Linked DNA regions of Homo sapiens: all the other regions are linked to region 1. The links are contacts of gene promoters, found by promoter capture Hi-C in blood cells and fetal thymus (Javierre and others, 2016). All regions are on one chromosome and are shown on one strand. Each heading gives the region's core, a stretch centred on a gene start or on the middle of the fragment in contact. The rest is flanking DNA. Distances are from core to core; before and after follow the strand shown.

Region 1 (4,264 bases), core at 834-3,333:
TAGGAGTTGTGTGCTGTAAGTGGTGTGAAGGAATAATGCCCCTACACAGTCTAAATTATTGTTCGTTCATGTAGTAGAACCTATGGAAGTTAAAGATTCATGATTCAATACCACTACATTATTTACTGGACCTTTAACTCCTAGAATATGTATTTAGTACAGAACTTTCTAAATGTTTCTCCTGCTTTTACTAGCTTGAATTGACATAAAATTTATTTTCACCATTTTCCCCCTAGGATGGAGTTTATAGGCCATATTCTGGGTTTAACTAAGAACCAAACTATTCCGTTAGTTGGTTTCTTCTAAGTCCCCATATTTCTCTATGAAAATTCATTTTTGTAGAATTTATTGACCAAGACCATGTGCCCCAAGACCATGCTATTAAATACACACCACAGAAAAGTCATTAAGGTAGGAAAAATACTAAAATTTGAGTATTTTACATTTTCTGCAATTCCCCAACTTCTCAGAAGATTGATTTTCCCTAAAGGTAATTATTTTGTTGTTAATGGATGGAGATGAAATTAAAGCAGCTGAGAGTGTGATAAATTGAATTACACGAGAGATGGATAAACCTTAAAGAGTAGCCTCTGGTTTTACAAGAATGGGATAAAAGAGATAAGGGCAGAACAAGATGACAGGATCGGGGGCCATGGGTGGAGGAGGGAAACGGAAAAATAAAGCAAATAAGAGAGGAGTGAGATTGTAGGGAAAGATACACTTTCAAAAATATTTAAGAAAATTTAGCTGTGGGATATAACCCTTCTCCATATTCATAAAAAAACTTAACTTAAAATCTTTATTTTTTTCAATACTTTTGGAAACATCCATGTATTGCCTTTTTTTTAGGTCATTACATGTTGCAATTTTCTTGAAGGTGAGAGCAAGAATAGGATTCGTTCAGTTGTGTTTTGGGTGGAATTTCTCAGGAACTAAGGACAATCATTACAAAGCAACACAAAAAGAACATTGTATTTCTATGCGACAAAAGTGGAGTTTTATTCAGAAGCAGCAAAAATAAGATACAGAAACATTGCTGTAAAAGGAAATACAGGGTGAAACAATCAGACTTTCAAATCTGAGAGTGAGACAACCTTGCCCCGAGTTACCCTGCAAGAATTTCCATGTTTGGGACAGAAGAACTTGGTATCCATAAATACAAATATAAGGTATAAAATTTGGTAAATTCTATTAATTTCTTTCTGTAAATAATATCTAATTTCACACTTGGGTCAACATGGGGAACATATATTCTAGATGTATAGCCAGGACATATATCCTAGATATATGTCCAGGATATGGAAACACAGTTGGTGGGAATGGCCTCTTCTGAGTTGTTTATGAGATGCACAAGGTCTGCTTCTGTGAGGAGTGAGCTGAAGGGGAGGAGATAGTTTCAGGCAAGGAGCTCAGCAGCAAGAGGAGGCACAGCACAAGGGACGGGGGCAGGTGGAAATGACACAGGTTGGGCGATAGCAAGTGGTGTGGCAGGAGACTCGGCCACAGACTGGACGCAGGCAGCAGCAGGGGCGGCAGCAGCACGGGCGGCAGCAGCTGGATTCACAGCAAGAGGGGCGGCAGCAGCTGGAGATGCAGCAGCTGGGACGGCAGCAGGTTGGCTGGCAGCACACAGACTGGCAGCACTGGGACCTGCAGCACCTGGACACACAGCAGCTGGGGCGACAGCAGCTGGAGATGCTGCAGCTGGGACGGCAGCAAGTGGGCTGGCAGCACACAGACTGGCAGCACTGGGGTCTGCAGCAGCTGGATACACAGCAGCTAGGGCGGCAGCAGGTGGTCCTGCAGCAGGTGGTCTGACAGCAGCTGGGACAGCAGCTGGGACGGCAGCAGGTGGGCTGGCAGCACACAGACTGGCAGCACTGGGGTCTGCAGCAGCTGGACACACAGCAGCTGGGGCGGCAGCAGGTGGTCCTGCAGCAGGTGGTCTGACAGCAGCTGGGGCGGCAGCAGGTCTCCAGGCCACAGCCCTGGTCAGAGCAGACGGAACCACAACAGGAGCTGACCATGGTGTCAGAGGGTAAAGGTTCTGGGTGGGTTTCCAAGAGAGTGAGTTTCGTGAGTTTGGGAGTCTCCTTGCTGCATGTCCCCTTTTATACCCAGCTGAGGAGCCTTTGTGATTATGAGAAGATTGTTTCCTTGTTTTTGTTTATATGACACAAATGCAATTACTAAATTATATTGTGTTTTTCTAGTAAAAAATCCCAATATATAGAAAATGATTATTTCCCTTTTCTCACCCTGGTGTTCCCACATGAGTCACCTCTTGTTTTCCTTTCCTTGGTTTCAGTGTCACATGACTTCAGTCTCTGGGTATCATGTGACATGGGAGGGCCACTGTCACTTGTCTGTTTCTCATCATGATATCGTTTTGGGAGAGCTTCTGATTGGGCTAAGATCTCTAGTGGAGAAATGCATGTGTCAATCAGCTGGAATGCTGACAGGAAAAAAAGAAAATATGCTCCTGTTTTTGAGTGTGAGAAATAAGGAAGCTTATGATTCATTGTATGTATTCTGGGTGGCCATTGAGCTAACTAAATTCCTAGGTCATTGCAAGCTGTGTTAATTCTCATCACTCTGGTGCACCTTGAAACAGTTAGTAGTGACTCACTGTTTCTAAGGAACAAAGCATCATCTGGGCTTGAGCTGCGTCTGTCTTCAAAAGTGTCCTACAGGCTGAAGTAGAGTAATGTGGATCATAGTTTTTGATCTGCCTTTTGAAATATCAAATGTGTAATGGTTATGCTTTATTGACATTTTGTTAAAATCTTTTTCATACATTTTGAGCTAAAACATCTAGCAGGGTTTTTTTTTAGTATCACTTATTTCTAAGATTTTTTAAGAAGCATTGAGAGGAATATAAAAGATATATTCTTTAACTTACAGGTACTTATGTAACTGTGGACCTCAATTTTAAAAATCACCCACTTTCTCTTCCTTTCCTCCCCTCTCACCTCTTCATTCCTTCCCTCTGCACACTCCCTTCTGGCAATACTATCTAATATCTTATCTAATTATATTCTTGCTTAAGAAATTCCAGAGGCTAATCTTGAAACAAACCAGGCACAGAGCCCTGAGGAATCCTCTCACTTAGGGGGAATCTTGAACAATTAATCCACCACCATTGGGCTGAAGTCAAAATAATGCCTCCCAAACCTCTGGACACCCAAGATAGCCATTGGAACAAGACATGCAGACTCAGCACCCTGCACCACCCCTGCATGTCTCCCATGCCAAGTTTCCCTTTCAAAACCCTATGGCAAATTTTAAAATTTAAGATGGCACTTTAGAATGCTAGTTCACTAGCTAAAGGATGTCAGTGAGATATATCTTGGGGTGAAATGTTTTTATTTCCTTCACTTAGCATTCTTCTAGTTATTCATTACCAGTTAGTTCAAATGCCATTTTTCTCCAATATCTTTCTTGGCCTCACACAAAGCAAGGTTATCCTCTGGTTTACTGGCTCTCCAACTAGAACTAACTTTCCTTTCACCAGCCCTTGCCTCTTATGTGTTGGCTTTCCAGCAGCAAGCAGCTGAACCTGGGTCCAGTTACATTTACACAGAAATTGCATTCATAACAAGTTTTTATTTTATTTATTTATGTATTTATTTTTTGAGATGGAGTTTCACTCTTATTGCCCAGGCTGGAGTGCAGTGGCACCATCTCAGCTCACTGCAACCTCTGCTTTCCAGGTTCAAGTAATTCTTCCGCCTCAGCCTCCCAAGTAGCTGGGATTACAGCCATGTGTCACCACGCCCGTCTAATTTTGTATTTTTAGTAGAGATGGGGTTTCACCATGTTGTCCAGGCTGATTTCAAACTCCTGACCTCAGGTGATCCACCCACCTTGGCCTCCCAAAGTGCTGGGATTATAGGAGAGAGCCACTGTGCCCGGCCCATAAAGAGTTTTTAAATAAAATCCTCACATGATCATGGTTCTAAATAAAGGGTCTTCTTTAGTGCCGTGGACATTCAGGGAAAAGCAATTATTCAAGGAAAGAACAAATTACCTTCACAATATTTTCTCTTCCTGGGAATGAAGGGATGTCTCTTGTGAACTTATGTGGGGCCTGAGGAACCTGGAGATCTCTGCCCTAGTGGAGTTTGTATTCTAGAAGGAGCTGATAGACACATGAATTTCCAATGGAGAATGAGATGATAGAGCCCATGTGTAAATAAGGCACCACAGAAGTGCAATGGAGGAAGGATTTTCCTCACTGAAAAATCACTGACTTGAGGCGGAT
Region 2 (4,264 bases), core at 593-3,092, 350 kb before region 1:
TTAAAATTGAACAGGAAGCACATAAAAGACCTCTTAGAATTAAAAACTAAGTCCCAAAAGAAAACTTCAATAGATGAATTGGAAAATAAATTTAAAAAAAAACTCCCCAAAATTAGAACAAAAAGATGAAAAGATAAATATGTGAGCCTTGAAAGAGCCAGTCTCTCTCTCTCTCTGTTTTTTTTTTTGAGACTGAGTCTTGCTCTGTCACCCAGGCTCGAGTGCACTGGCGCGATCTTGGCTCACTGCAACCTCCACCTCCCAGGTTCAGGTAATTCTCCTGCCTCAGCCTCCCAAGTAGCTGGGATTACAAGCACATGCCACCATGCCTGGCTAATTTTTGTATTTTTAGCAGAGATGGGGTTTCACCATGTTGGCCAGATTGGTCTCGAATGCCTGACCTCAAGAGATCCGCCAGCCTCGGCCTCCCAAAGTGCTGGGATTACAGGTGTGAGCCACCGTGCCTGGCGTAAAGAACCAGCCTCTTAAGATGAGTCCTGAGCAGCTAACTGGGCCTAAATTCAAATTAAAACCAAGCAACCATTTGCTGACTACAGGTCACATATTTACTCTGAGTTCCCAGAAAATGTGCACATCTGCTTAACTTTGGGACTTTCATAGCTTCCAGTTTATGCCACCTGAACCAAACAATAGGCTGTAACCTACATGGATCAATCAGAAGTCTGCATGCCCTGACTAATAAGAGCTAACTAAGCAAACATCAACCAACCAGAACTAAGTAAATTTCAATCCTGCATTTTGCATAAGCAGACCTAAGTGGGAACCTGGGTGGGAACTTTCTCTAAAAGACAAATTCCCTTCCTTTGTTCTCTGGAACACATTTTCATTTTACACCAAAGGCTGTGTCTCACCAGCTTGCTAGCTGTTTGCTGGAATGAAGTCTCTGTCCTTGAATTTCCTTCTCAGAGAACTTGTTTACAGATAAAAGAAAATATTAGAAAATGAGAGACTTGGGCCGGGCGCGGTGGCTCACTCCTGTAATCCCAGCACTTTGGGAGGCCGAGGTGGGCGGATCACGAGGTCAGGAGATCGAGACCATCCTGGCTAACACGGTGAAACCCTGTCTCTACTAAAAATACAAAAATATTAGCCGGCGGTGGTGGCGGGCGCCTGTAGTTCCAGCGGCTGAGGTAGGAGAATGGCGTGAACCCGGGAGGCGGAGCTTGCAGTGAGCCGAGATCGCGCCACTGCACCCCAGCCTGGGCGACAGAGTAACACTCCATCTCAGAAAAAAAAAAAAAAAAAAAAAAAAAAAAAAAAAGAAAAAGAAAATGAGAGACTTGGTCAAAGAAGAACAACATCAAGTAGGTCTTCTGGAAAGAGAGAAGGGAGAAATCATGAAGAAATTATTTTATAAACATATTTTCTGAAATACTACTCAGAACTAAACAACTGAGCTTCTAAATTCAAAGAGACCACCAAGAACCATGAATGATAAATGAAAAACATCCACAGTGAGGCACATCCACAGGATCTTTCAGAGAACCATGGCTGGGGGCGGGGGCGACAAACAAACACTTAAAATGTCAGGAGCAAAACCAACACATATTCAATTTTAGGAAAGCCATCATTCTAGTGAAGAATGCTTTCAAAATACGAACCCAGGCCAGGCGCAGTGGCTCACGCCTGTAATCCCAGCACTCTGGGAGGCCGAGGGAGGTGGATCACTTGAGATCAGGAGTTCAAGACCAGCCTGGCCAACATGGTGAAACCCCGTCTCTACTAAAAATACAAAAATTAGCTGGGCCATGGTGGTATGTGCCTGTAATCCCAGCTATTTGGGAGGCTGAGGCAAGAGAATTGCTCGAACCCATGAGGCGGAGGTTGCAGTGAGCTGTGATCACACCACTGTACTCCAGCCTGGTTGACAGAGCGAGATGCTGTCTCTTAAAAAAAAAAAAAAAGTGAACGCAAAATGATATCCAACCTTTTATTTCTAATCCTTTCCTAAGGTTTGTCACCTCATTTCTAAGTTTTTTTCTAATTGTGACTTATGTAGAGAACCAAAATTCTCTACTTTAACAACCACAAGTGAGGGTGGAATAAAAATCTTTTCCGACATGAAAGGTCTCAAAAAAATTATCTCTTTTGCACATTTTGTCAGGAAGCCACTAGAGAGAAAAACATGAAAAAGGAAAACTTAGGTTCCTGGAAATGGAGTTCCAATGTGAGCGCACTGAGTGAGTGTTCCCACATGACAGCTGGGTAGCAGGCTTAAAAAACAGCCAATGTTGCATAGGAGGACAGGAGATTCTGAAAGTGAGCACTTCAGGGGGATAGATGAAAATGATTTCTTGGTAGTTTTAATTGCATAAGAAAGTGGCATGAGAGATAAAGATACGGAGAAAACAGGGGTTAAACTACTTAGAAAATCGTTCTAACTTTAAACTAAGGGTCCTCCATGAATTCAGAAGGGAACGGAACGGCCTAGATCCTGTGAATTCTCAAAACTGACCAGCCATGGTTCCCTCCTGGGAGAGCAACCCACGACAAGGAGAAACTGCTAGGGGAAGAATCAAAATTATTCAGGAGAGGGTCACAGAGAGGAAGGAAACAGAAGGTCTAGATACAAGTGGAGGAGGGAAAAAAAGACAGGAAATTTCAGAAATCAAGCCAATGTATTTTTGAATCCTAGATAAAAACAAGAGAAAAGGGAGCTCTGTGAAGTTAGTAAAGCTATTTGGAATTATACTTTATTATTATTATTTTTTGAGACGGAGTCTCACTCTATTGCCCAGGCTGGAGTGCAGTGGCACGATCTTGGCTCACTGCAACTTCTGCCTCCCAGGTTCAAGTCATTCTCCTGCCTCAGTCTCCTGAGTAGCTGGGATTAGAGGCGTGCACCACCACGCCCAGCTACTTTTGTATTTTTAATGGAGAAGGGAGTTCACCATGTTGGCCAGGCTGGTCTCGAACTCCTGACCTCAAATGACCCACCTGCTTCGGCCTTCCAAAGTGTTGGGACTACAGGCGTGAGCCACCACGCCCGGCCTGGAATGATACTTCAGTCTAGAAGTTAAGGAACATGAATTGGCAATAAAACCAAGCAAAAGAAAAGGATTGAAGTAAAATCCCGGGAAATGTTAATACAAGATAATAAGGATGAGGAGCAGCATAGTGTCCCTATAGAAAATGAAAGCATACCGGAAAGACATGCCTACAAAACTGAGTAAGATACAACCCACCATTTCAAAGTGACTTAAAATCGCTAAAATGATAAAAGAAAAAAAAATTCCCATAAACCAGAATTAGAAAAAAACTTAGAAATGAGGTGACAAACCTTAGGAAATGATTAGAAATAAAAGGACAAAAACCTAATTAAACTAAGATACAATCACAGAAAATGAGAAATTTAGGGGAAATCAGTCACCAGAAGAAAGACATATTCTGGAAATAATCTTAAATAAAATATTAGCAAATACAATTCATTAATATATTAAATAGCAGAAAATATCCCAAGGAAGTTTTTCACCAGAAATGACAATGACTCAATATGATATGTAGCAGATAAAAGTGTCCTATGACAGAAACCATATGATCACCTTAAAAGTACTAGAAGAAAATGTGGGTCCCAGCAGTTGTAAAACTCAGAACCTATGATGGAAATTTTTATAAATATGACAATGAATTATACATTCCTATATGATGACAAAAATCGAAAGAAAAATAGAAATGTCAAAACATTTGCTACACCCAGTAACAAGTGGCAATTTATTTCCCTTGCAAAAAGCTCCCATAAATCTTGGGTTTTTGTTAAAAGAAGGAATAGCAGCGTGTAGTTTTTGCTTTAACAACCACTCGAGTACAGTGGTTGCATTCCTTTTTCTCCAGATGGAGACTGATTTTTGGGAAGTACTTTCAGTGTAGTAACCCAATTCAGCAAAAAGCAGGATGAAGCTTCAAGGATTGGAGAAGAACAGGCAATCATTAGCAGAATGTGTAAAGAACTCAGGAGCCCTAGAATTCCGCCCAGCAAAGGAAAATCAGTGAACCGAAGGCCATAGTCTGTTTTTATAAGCCAAGGAAGGAAGGACAGATTTAAGACCCAAAAGCCTGAGGACAAGATGTTTCCTCCCATCCTGTGGACTCAACAGAACTTAAAGGAAACTTATCCAGAATTTAATTTTACTCCCATTCCTTTGCTGAATAGATACACAGTTAATTCTGGTTTATTTGTTTCAGCAAGAAATGGTGAATTTATAGTTATCTTTTCAAGTCAACTGTCCCCTCACCACAAAGTGTA
Region 3 (4,264 bases), core at 1,207-3,706, 290 kb before region 1:
CTACATGTTGGGAATGTAGTTTTATATGATTAAGTTTTCAGAGTGCCAATGCTTTGGAAAGTGCAGCTAAAAAGTCTCCCTGTGGACAAATTGGCAAATAATTGTGTAACCTGCTACTTCAGCTTTGTGTCTTTGGTGTTATAATATTATATTGTCCTTTAGCTCCTCAGAAATGATCTCCTCTTTAATGCAACTGTTACCTGTGTACCCTGGAGGTGACAGATAATCATGATAATGATGACTAAAACTTTCATCAGGTTCTCCTCCCTACTGAGACCTTCCTTTCCCTTGAGCAGTTCTTGTCTTCCCACTGGCCAGCGTTCAGTTCTATCTCCTTCAGCTCTGCAAGCTGTAAAAACACCTTCCATAGTCACACAGGGGAACTGAGTAAAATTCTCCTAACTTCACATCACCTGAAGGACTTTTTCTTACCCCTAGCCTCTGAGTAATAACACTGAGAAGGACTTCATTGTTGTGCTTTCCTATAACACCACTGCTGGATTCTGATTAGCCTGGATCTAATTCTGTAGTACTAATTTTTGTTCCAGGATTATCTCTATTGGATGCTGATTATATATATTTGTATTTTTTAAATGATAAACATTTATTTTATTATTTGTCAGCCTACTCAGTCATATATTAGATAGGCTAGGGAAGTTTAACATTAAAATTATCATCCAGAATCAGCACATAAGGCTGTTTAAAATGGGTATCCAGTGAAAACACCGTAAAGCACCTTGGGAGGTACTTTTTATCCAATGTAAATTGTAATATACAATGTAAAAACTGTATGAAACTTTATCATGTATTTGCCTTTAGATCATAAAAACTGAGGTTATTTTCAATAGACTATGTAGAGTCTTACATATAGTTGGTGCTAAATAAAAGCTTGTTGAAGGAATTGAAGCCATCCTCACAGAATTAAGAATTCTGGGCAGAAATGTAGTTATAATTAAGCTTTAACCAGGCTGCACTTTGACCCACTTCCTTGTAACTAAACATCACATAACCTTAGATTCTGACCATTTGCATCCCCATTGTTCCTGTAGATAGAAATTCTAATGTTAGAACCATGAGGCTTTTGTTTAAGAATTGCTTAAACGGATCCTGAATTACTGTGGAACTGCTAACGCCAACCAATTTAAAGACTCCCACAGACAAACCAAATGAGCATGAGAGTACAGTTTCTTTCTCTCCCTGTCCTGGGACTTCACCCTGTACTCTTCAACTAATCAACAATCTCTATGCTTTGGCTCACTCCAAAACTCTTAAAAACCCTCGCCCCAGAGTCCCCGGGAAGATGGATTTGGGGTTTTCTCTTTTCTCCTCATTTGTTGGCCTTACCATTAAACCTCTGTCTCTGTTGCAACCTGGTGCCTCTGGGTATTGACTTGCTGTGAACATCCAGGCAATGAACCTATTACAGCTACAGAATGAATACACAAATAAATGCATATGTGATGCCCCACTTGTATACATAAATAAGCCAGCGGAGAAAACCAAACACCACATGTTCTCACTCATAAATGGAAGTTGAACAATGAGAACATGTGGACACAGGGAGGGGAGCATCACACACCGGGGCCTGTCGGGGAGTGAGGGACTAGGGGAGGGATAACATTAAGGAGAAATACCTAATGTAGATGATGGGTTGATGGGTGCAGCAAACCACCATGGCACGTGTATGCCTATGTTACAAATCTGCACGTTCTGCACATGTATCTCAGAACTTAAAGTATAATAATAAAAAATAAAAATTACACTGCAACTTGTCAAAAAAGTTATACTTGTTGCTCTGTTTATTTGAAACGTGAAATTGCAGCCTGACGTGATTTCTTTAAAATCCCATGTTACTTGCAAATAAATGAAATATTTCAAAATGAGTACACTTAGCAGAAACTTAGTAGTGTATGTATAACTTCAGGAGATCAATAAGTGCAAGTCAGTAACTAAAATGACCATATTCTTACCAACCAAGGTCATAGCGTCGTGTGTTTACGGTGTTTTTAAAGATTTCAAAATGCCGGGCTAATGTGATTATATGTGATATTATTGTTGTCTTTTTGTACAAAGTGAGTCATCTCAAGTTGAGTAACTTGTTCTGAGTAAGATAATGACTCACTGAGAAAGCCTGAAATACCATCTAAATGGCTTCTATTAGAGCCCACTGCTGTCTGTGGACTGTTTTATCAGTGTGATTTATTTACAGGTCTGCTTCTAAATTGCGTATTTGTTCCATCATTTTGAAGAAGAGTTGCATTTCATTAAGAATATGTACATAGTGAAAAAACAATGACATATTTTAGCAACTAGAATTCGCAATGAATTTAATTCTAAAGAAGAGTAGTATGCAGAATTTTTTTCCTGAAAAAGCTTGATGCTCATGTTTTTACAGTCTATAAAGTTAAAATATCTATTCTGAGTTTTGCAAACAATTTATTGCATGTGTGTAAAGCATTGCATTTATTTATAATTCTGCTATATTATGCTAATTTAAGAAATAAACCCTAAAATCATGCATGACAATTCCCAAGAATGCTAAGCTTTTTTTGAGACGGAGTCTCACTCTGTCGCCCAGGCTGGAATGCAGTGGTGCGATCTCAGCTCACTGCAAGCTCTGCCTCCCGGGTTCACACCATTCTCCCGCCTCAGCCTCCCAAGTAGCTGGGACTACAGGTGCCCGCCACCACGCCCGGATAATTTTCTGTATTTTTAGTAGAGACAGGGTTTCTCTGTGTTAGCCAGGATGGTCTCAATCTCCTGACCTCATGATCTGCCCGCTTCGGCCTCCCAAAGTTCTGGGATTATAGGCGTGAGCCACTGCTCCCAGCCCCAGTTTTTCTTAATTTATTTTATATACTCTGTATTTAGTTGTAGAATCCTCCCCTTCAATTTGAGCAGCTACATTAATATTAGCATTTTAGACAGGCACCGTGGTTTGCACCTTTCATCAGGCATCTGACATTTGACTAAAATGGCAGTAGTCTGAGGTGGGAGGATCACTTGAGCCCAGGAATTTGAGGCTGCAGTGAGCTATGAGCACACCATTGCACTACAGCCTGGGTGACAGAGAGCGACCCCATCTCTGAAGAAAGCACATCTTATAGTTTCAAAGTGCTTTATGGCTTGTTAAGCTCCTTCACAGAAGTTGGCTTATTTGATGCTCACAACTTGTGATAGAGGGAAGATAAATATTATTCCCCCCTCCCCATATGTTGGGTGAGAAAAGTGCACTTTTTTTTTTTACAAAAGTGGAATAATTTAGGATTGTGCATGAAGGGAAGAAAAAGAATAAATATGTCTGGGGGAAATATGTAAACCAGTTCATTTCTTTAGTTGTAGAGAGACTTTTTTTCTTTGCATAATAATAGCAGGTAATATTTAGTGCTTACTATATGCCAAGTGTGAATTGACCCATAGAATTCTCATAATAGGGCGTGAAGCAGGTATCCTTTTTTGCCTTGATTTTAGGGAACAGAGAACTATGGAACAGAGAGGTAAGTAAAACCATTAGAAAGTGCCAGAGCTGGGACCCAAACTCAGGCCTTTGAACTGTGCTTTTAACCTCTATGCTCAGTGGTGTACTGGTGTAAAACAGTTTTCTGGGAAATACATTTTAAAAGCCCAAGTTCCATTTGTGTAAATACTCCCATCATGGCCAATTTCAAGCTGCCCATGGTTTAATAGCCAGCTTGGAAAATTCCTGAATATTTACTGATCAGTGATTAAGAGCCAGCTTGCCCTAGGACACCTTTGACGATCCTACATGGCCTCTCTGCGCCTGTGGACAGTATCATCTGAAGAAAGAATATTCAATTATTATTTTAAAATTGACTATTGAGTTAATATTTACTTACAATGAAATATATTCGTTTTAAATGTGCAGTTTGAAGAGCCTTGCTAAATGGACCCATCACCACAGTCAAGATACGGAACACTTCCATCGGTCCCAAAGGTTCTCAGGTGCCCCTTCCAGGTTAACCAGTTAATTCTCACTCCTCCCACACCTTTCAGCTCAGGTGACCACTGAGCTTATTTCTGTCACTATAGATGAGATTTTATCTTTCTGAAAGTTTCATATAAATGGAATCATACAGTATGTATTCTTTTGTGTCTGGTTTCTTTAGCTCAGCACAATCTTGGATTCAGTTCCAAGATTTAAGAAACATTTACTACCCCATAAAAAAATCATTTACTCAGCTATATGATTAAGAATTTCATTTTCATTTGATATTTGAGTATGTTTTTAAAGCCTGAGTAGTTA

What was found. Contacts are between HindIII fragments. The CHiCAGO score rates a contact against its expected background, and 5 or more counts as called.
Region 2: a fragment that was not itself captured here is called in contact with the fragment with the promoter of KRTAP4-6 in region 1 in 1 of 17 cell types (erythroblasts); the score reaches 5.3 in erythroblasts.
Region 3: a contact is called between a fragment that was not itself captured here and the fragment with the promoter of KRTAP4-6 in region 1, in 1 of 17 cell types (endothelial precursors). The highest score is 5.6, in endothelial precursors.

What each region holds. Positions count from the first base shown.
Region 1 is chr17:41,138,461-41,142,724 of GRCh38, forward strand. It overlaps KRTAP4-6 (keratin associated protein 4-6), which reads right to left and starts at 2,084. Exons shown (of 1, transcript NM_030976.2): 1 at 973-2,084. The coding sequence starts at 2,027. The coding sequence ends at 1,410. RefSeq lists an enhancer at 1,216-1,728. The HindIII fragment of the contact is 3,012 bases long and covers 1-2,508 here.
Region 2 is chr17:40,785,052-40,789,315 of GRCh38, forward strand. No RefSeq gene overlaps it. Among named protein-coding and RNA genes, the nearest start is that of KRT27, 4.6 kb to the left of the region's middle. The HindIII fragment of the contact is 4,148 bases long and covers 1-3,916 here.
Region 3 is chr17:40,852,311-40,856,574 of GRCh38, forward strand. The region is part of intron 1 of LOC105371777 (a long non-coding RNA gene); the gene reads left to right. Among named protein-coding and RNA genes, the nearest start is that of KRT12, 13 kb to the right of the region's middle. The HindIII fragment of the contact is 170 bases long and covers 2,372-2,541 here.